Linked DNA regions of Homo sapiens: region 1 is linked to region 2. Evidence: promoter capture Hi-C in 16 types of primary human blood cells and fetal thymus (Javierre and others, 2016). All regions are on one chromosome and are shown on one strand. The core of a region is centred on a gene start or on the middle of the fragment in contact, and the rest is flanking DNA. Distances in the headings are between cores, read along the strand shown.

The links. Contacts are between HindIII fragments. The CHiCAGO score rates a contact against its expected background, and 5 or more counts as called.
Region 1: a contact is called between a fragment that was not itself captured here and the fragment with the promoter of RAB39A in region 2, in 1 of 17 cell types (total B cells). The highest score is 5.7, in total B cells.

What each region holds. Positions count from the first base shown.
Region 1 is chr11:108,654,744-108,657,793 of GRCh38, reverse strand. No RefSeq gene overlaps it. Among named protein-coding and RNA genes, the nearest start is that of DDX10, 8.8 kb to the left of the region's middle. The HindIII fragment of the contact is 241 bases long and covers 1,554-1,794 here.
Region 2 is chr11:107,927,118-107,930,314 of GRCh38, reverse strand. RAB39A (RAB39A, member RAS oncogene family) reads right to left here and starts at 1,867. Exons shown (of 2, transcript NM_017516.3): 1 at 1,520-1,867. The coding sequence starts at 1,746. RefSeq lists silencers at 1,392-1,611, 1,642-2,131. The HindIII fragment of the contact is 18,255 bases long and covers 1-3,197 here.

The DNA.
Region 1 (3,050 bases), core at 425-2,924, 730 kb before region 2:
TGGTCTCAGTTCTGTCATAGTAATTTGTATAAAATTTTGTAAAATATATATGATGTGTTATTTTCCTATATTATCTGTTTTCTTTGGTCATCTTGATATTTTTTATTTTTGTTTTTAGAACACTGTGTGTAGTAGTTGCCTATATAATAAGTCCTTTATATGATGCTCTTATACTCCTTTTTCCTTGAGTCAGTGATACCCCTTGATTTCCATTTATTATCACTATGGAAATCCATGAGTTTATTTTCTCTTTCATTTGCATTGTCAGAGCATATTGCATTTATGCTTTATTCTTCCATGCTTACTCCACTTTGTTTAGACTTAGATCTAAAATTACATTTAATGCTCATTCTTCAACTGCCAAAGTTTTCCACATCACCTCTTGGTTCCAAGGAACTTACAGGTGCAATATTCGCTGAGGTCCTGCATGCTTTAAATTGTTTTTCAATAGCCTCAAGTTGTAAAGTTTTTAGTTTTCACTTTTTTCCCTTGAGTTTCTTTTAAAGGGTTGTTCCACTGTTGTCTTGTTTAGTGTGTTGTTGCCAAGCTGTCTGATGCCAATCTAATTTTCTTTCTTTCATAATGACCTTAATTGTTTTGAATGAAAAATCAGATTATTTTTTCTCCCTTTTTTAGTAAATCAAATCATTTTACTAAATTATGTTTTAGAGTTAATTGTTTATGGGTCAATTCTCCCAGGCACACAGTGGACCTCTTCAGTAATAGTTTTTTGCTTTTGTTTTTTTGTTTTTGAGATTGAGTCTTGCTCTGTCGCCCAGGCTGGAGTGAAGTGGTGCGATCTCAGCTCACTGCAACCTCCGCTTCCCAGGTTCAAGCAATTCTCCCGTCTCAGCCTCCCAAGTAGCTGGGACTACAGGCACCCACCACCAGGCCCAGCTAATTTTTCTATTTTTAGTAGAGACAGATTTCACCATGTTGGCCAAGCTGGCCTGGATCTACTGACCTCACATGATCTGCCCACCTCAGCCTCCCAAAGTGTTGGGATTACAGGTGTGAGCCACCGCACCCAGCCAGTTCTTTGTTTAAGTTTGTCTGCTCTCTGCATTGTAACTGCCTTTCTACATTGCCAATAAAGTTAAATACTGTTTAATTTTAAGAGAGTCCACAAGATCAGAATAACTTGGCCTAAAGATGCTAAAAGGTGAACCCATCCATGTCCTCTTGTTACGTAAAAATGGCAAATAACTATTTGTAAATCAATTCAACTGTATATTTGACTTTTTTTAAGTTGGAAAAGAAATTAATACAACAAGATATATGTTTATTCAAATAGTGAAATTACCTTTGTTTCCTTATACCTTATTAATATAATCAGTCTGAAGTCATTGTTAGGATACAACACCTCTATACAATTTTTGAAGTTGCAGCTTTGGTTGGTTCCATCTCCTTTTACTCATATCCTCTAAAACTTGGCGGGGCCAGCATGCAGCCACCTTGATTCCAGAATGCATCCTGTCAAACCTTTAAACAACAAAAATATATTTACCTAATTGGCTAGTACACATAAATTAAAAGGCCACGAGGTTTAAGCTTGCCACAACTGTTGTGTTGCTAACTACCCAGGAGTCATGAATCAATTAGTTTGTCTATGCATGTGTTTGTTCATTCATTTATGTATAACTTTTTTCCTTTATTTATCTAATTGTCTTGTACTAGACATTCTTAAGCCTCAAGAATACAAAAATGAAGAAAAAAACTGTCCTTGCCTCAAGAAATTTATAATCAAGCATGATGGCCTCCAAAGTTAGTTGCACGAGAATCACATAGAAAGCTTTTAAAAAATAGTGCTTCCTGAGCTTTAGCCAAAAATATTCCTATTCTATAAGTATGAAACAGAAACCAGGCAATTCTGTTTCATAGGGACCTCTGGTCTAGTAAATTACAATTAATCATAATAATTGAAGCTGATTATAATCAGTTCAAGTTGAATACCACCAAAATTAAACCATAATAAAACTATGAAAATTAACATACAAAGGGAAAATAGTAATAAATAAAGTTTCCATATGCTGTTGATTTTTTTGTTGTTGTTGTTGTTGTTTGAGATAGGGCCTCGCCCAGGCTGGAGTGCAGTGAAACAATCAGGGCTCACTGCAGCCTTGAACTCCTGGGCTCAAGCCATCCTCCTGCCTCAGTCCCCTGAGTAGCTGGGACCACAGGCACATGCCACCACGCCTGGCTACTTTTTTATATTTTTAGTTGAGACAGAGTTTTGCCATGTTGCCCAGGCTGATCTCGAACTCCTGGACTCAGGCGATCTGCCTGCCTCAGCCTCCCAAAGTTCTGGGATTACAGGTGTGAGCCACTGCACCCTGCCTGCCCTTGATTCATATTTGAACCATAGATATTAATAAGACGCTTAACAAAACCATCTCAACTCATCAATGTTATCAATAAAAATTACTGTGGCTATCACACATAAGGATTCTCATACTGTGGTTCACTAGTAAAAATACTTGAAGACTCATGCCCTAATCACTTGTCTGAGATAAACTTAATTTCTGCCACTATTTTCACTTAGTGAGAAATTGGAACTTCCAGATAGTTATTTTTGGTCTATCATGGGCCAGCAGGTGGCAGGGTAGGATTAAGTGCTAGTTTTCCCTTGGGAGTGGACTGAATTTGGCCTGGGTTTTTATAGTCACTCAGCAATTTGGTGTACTGGTAAGTTTGTCTGTCTTATTAAAACATTGAGTTTCTAGGACATGCTTTATTTACAATCAGTACTCCCAAAATTCTATTTTTAATTCATTCTTCCAACGCTTCTTTTTAATTAACAGGAAGTAATTGCTAATATTTATTGAGCACCTAGTAAGTGCTATTTCTAACTTCATTACATACATTCTTTCTAAACCTCACACAACTCATTTTCCGGATGAGAAAACTGAAGGCAAGAAAGATTAAATGATACGCCCAGGGTCATATGTGACTTAATACTTGATATCATTGGTATTCTCTCCCAGTTTGTGGCACCACAAAACATAATTTTGATTTATTTCATCATGGAAAGACTTCCAACTCTCCTGTTC
Region 2 (3,197 bases), core at 618-3,117:
ATCACGACGACTTTCATTTTACAGATGAGGAATCAAACATTTGAAAAATTATTTTAATAAAAGGAGGCTTCTTGAAAAGGAAAAACATTTTTCATGGAATTCTACGTGTTGTACAAATCCAATCAATAATCTTTTAACACCTCTCTGAAGCGCTGGCCTTACCATCTTTCCACTTCACACACACGAAAACTAAGGTATAAGCAAGCTAAGCAGTTCACTCATTATCTCTATGAATCAGCATCATTGCTAGGAACGGAAGCCAAAACTTTGAATGTTGGACCATTCTCACAGATGTAGGCTGATCTCATTCGCAGTGATGCTGGCTGGGGGCGAGGGGAAGCCATGTTTGGGAAGTCCCCTCATGGAACACTGCATTTCACAAGCAGAGTACTTGCTGACTAACGCAAAATGCTTCCTTAAATGAGTTCCAATGGATAATGCAGTCTTTAAGAAACAGAACAGTACAATACATCAGTTTCACCATCTTCCTCTAAAACGAAGTGCCTTTGAATCCTAGACATTTAAAATTTGCTTTAAACCTGCTTCCATCTCAAATATTCAGGAAATGCATATAATTTCATTTACTTTTTATTTACACAAGTCGCCTTTGTGAAACCCTTCATGTCCCCAGCGGATATTTAGGAGGAGACTATTCATTTGGATCCCTCCTTCTGTCTTTAGAAATATTATCACCCTGGAACGTTAAGTACTGATCATAAGCAAAATTAAAGTTCCTGGCGAATCTCAATATATGTCTTTTTCCCACCAAACATGACAAACTTCTAAAGACAACTCAACCCTTCACATACACACACACACACACACACACCCTCAGCTGTGCCAGTGTCCCTGATGTTGCATCTAGTTAACCTACAAGACCCATTCCCACGGGTCATGACCCAGTATTTCTGATGACCACATTCAGTGCTGTGAGGTGCCCAAACCATTACCGCATCCACCTCTCTGTGAACCATGCCCAGTGAGCTCATGCAGGAACCTGGGTTGGAGCGCTCCTTGCTGTGAAGCTAAAGGATCCATCACGAATCTGGGAACCCTCCCTCGCGGTTCTCCCCGGCCACACAGCGTGGGAGCCGCTGGGTTAGGGTAGGAAAAGGGGCGCCTGCTTGGAGGAGGGTGGTCGGGTCATGCTGTGCGCAGCCAGGGAAGCCGAGTTTGGGAAGAAGGCAGCCGGGGAGCCGGAGGGGATAAAAATACCCACAGGGGCTGAAAGAGTTGGGGAAGAGGGGGCGGCGAGGACGACCCCGGTTCAGGCGGGAAAGGAAAGATGGAAAGGGGGCGCAGGAAATGGGCGCCAAAGAAAGAAGTGAGAAATTGCGGAGGAGGAAGTCGTCCCTGGAAGAGGAGGGGCAAAGGGGAAGCGAGAATGGAGTGTTTGCACTTTCGAGAGGGAAGGGCCAGAGCCTCTCCCGACCAGGGCCGGCGGGGCGGACGCCTGGGGAAGGGGCGTCCGGGCGGGCTGAGGGGGCGGCGCGGTGCCCAAGGTCCCCGGGGTCCCTACCTGAACCGCTCCTGTCCCGCCGTGTCCCAGAGCTGTAGCTTGATCCTCTTGCCCGGCTCGATCTCCAGCAGGCGGGAGAAGAAGTCCACGCCGACGGTGGGGTCGCAGGCGGGGGAGCGCAGCCCGGGGAAGCGGCCCTGGGTGAAGCGGTGCAGGAGGCAGGACTTGCCCACGGTGGAGTCCCCGATCACGATGAGGCGGAACTGGTAGATCCAGATGGTCTCCATCGCTCACGTGCCCCGCTGGCTCCCGGGCCGCCCCACCCGCGGGCTAAGTTCGGCGGCGGGAACTGTCCTTTCAGCACCTCGCGGGCGCCCGCCCGCCGCCTTCCAGCATATTCCTGCGGCTGCGGCCGCCGCCTGGTGCCCGCCCTCTCGGGAGAGAGAGGCGGGGCCAGGCCCGGCTAGGGGCGGGGCCTCTGGACGGGGGCGGGGCGGGGGCGGTGGCGCGTGGGAGGGGGAAGCAGGTTTGCTGCCGCGAACTCCCGCCCCTGACCGGCTGCAAATCACTCTCCCTCAACGCTCACTGGGCGCCGGCAGGAAAGTGGGCGTGGCGGGAAGACGTGACAGCAGCAACAACCAAGGAAAATGAAGCAAGGTCTCAACTCCGGGAGGGTCAGCCAATGAAAAGTGAGAGTCGTTTTCTTACAGGCGTCAGGGCGGGTTGGTCAGATTAGGGCTCTGATTTTGGAAGTCCCTGAGGCCATAACTTGGGTCATTGCTTTGATTCCTCTTTTTTTTTTGTCCCCCAGGCTGGATTGATGTGGTGAGATCTCGGCTCATTGCAGCCTCAAGCGATCTGCCCACCTCAGCCTCCCAAGCAGCGGGGACCACGGGTGTGAGCCATCACACCTGGCTAATTTTCTTCTGGGTTAAAAAAAAATTTTTTTTTTAGAGATGTGGTCTCGCTATGTTGCTTAGGCTGGTCTCAAACTCCTAGGTTCAAGCGATCCATCCACCTCAGCCTCCTGAGTAGCTGGGACTACAGGCGGGGGCCACCACATCCCGCTAATTTTCTAACTTTTTGTAGAGATGGGGTCTTGCTGTGTTGCCCAGGCTGGTCTCGAACTCCTGACCTCAAGTGATCCTCCAGGCTCAGCCTCCCAGTGCTGGGATTACAGGTGTGAGCCACCACACCCTGCTTTCTTGTCTTGATGAGAGCCACCTCCAAGGCATTTTAAGGTGAAGGAGTTTTGGGCAGGATTGAAATAAATTTGCACAGCCAGTTCTGGGTGCTTCTAGCAAGGGCTCTGGCTGTTGCTGCGTGCTGCCACTGTCTGTTCTTCACTGCTATGAGTACCACAGAAGAGTGAGAAACGCCAAGTATCATCCCCATACCCTCTGGGGCCCTCCAACCCTGGGGACAGTGGCAAAAAAAAAAAAAAAAAAAAAAGCCGGGGAAATGTTGAGAAGCTCATGAAATTTTCAGCTCTCCTTGGTCTCCATTGTTTAAGTCAGAAAAAAGCGAACAGGTGGTCTCTTAGCTCATGTCTGATTAATGATGTAAGTAAACAAAGCAGAACTTAAATTCTGGTGAGATCTTACTACTTTCTTGTGCCTTTCCTCAAATTGAGTAATAGTGACGTCAAGGTTTATCTTTAAAAAGTGAAACAGTTTAAAAGTGTGTGTTAGGCCGGGCGCGGTGGCTCACGCCTGTAATCCCAGCACTTTGGGAGGCT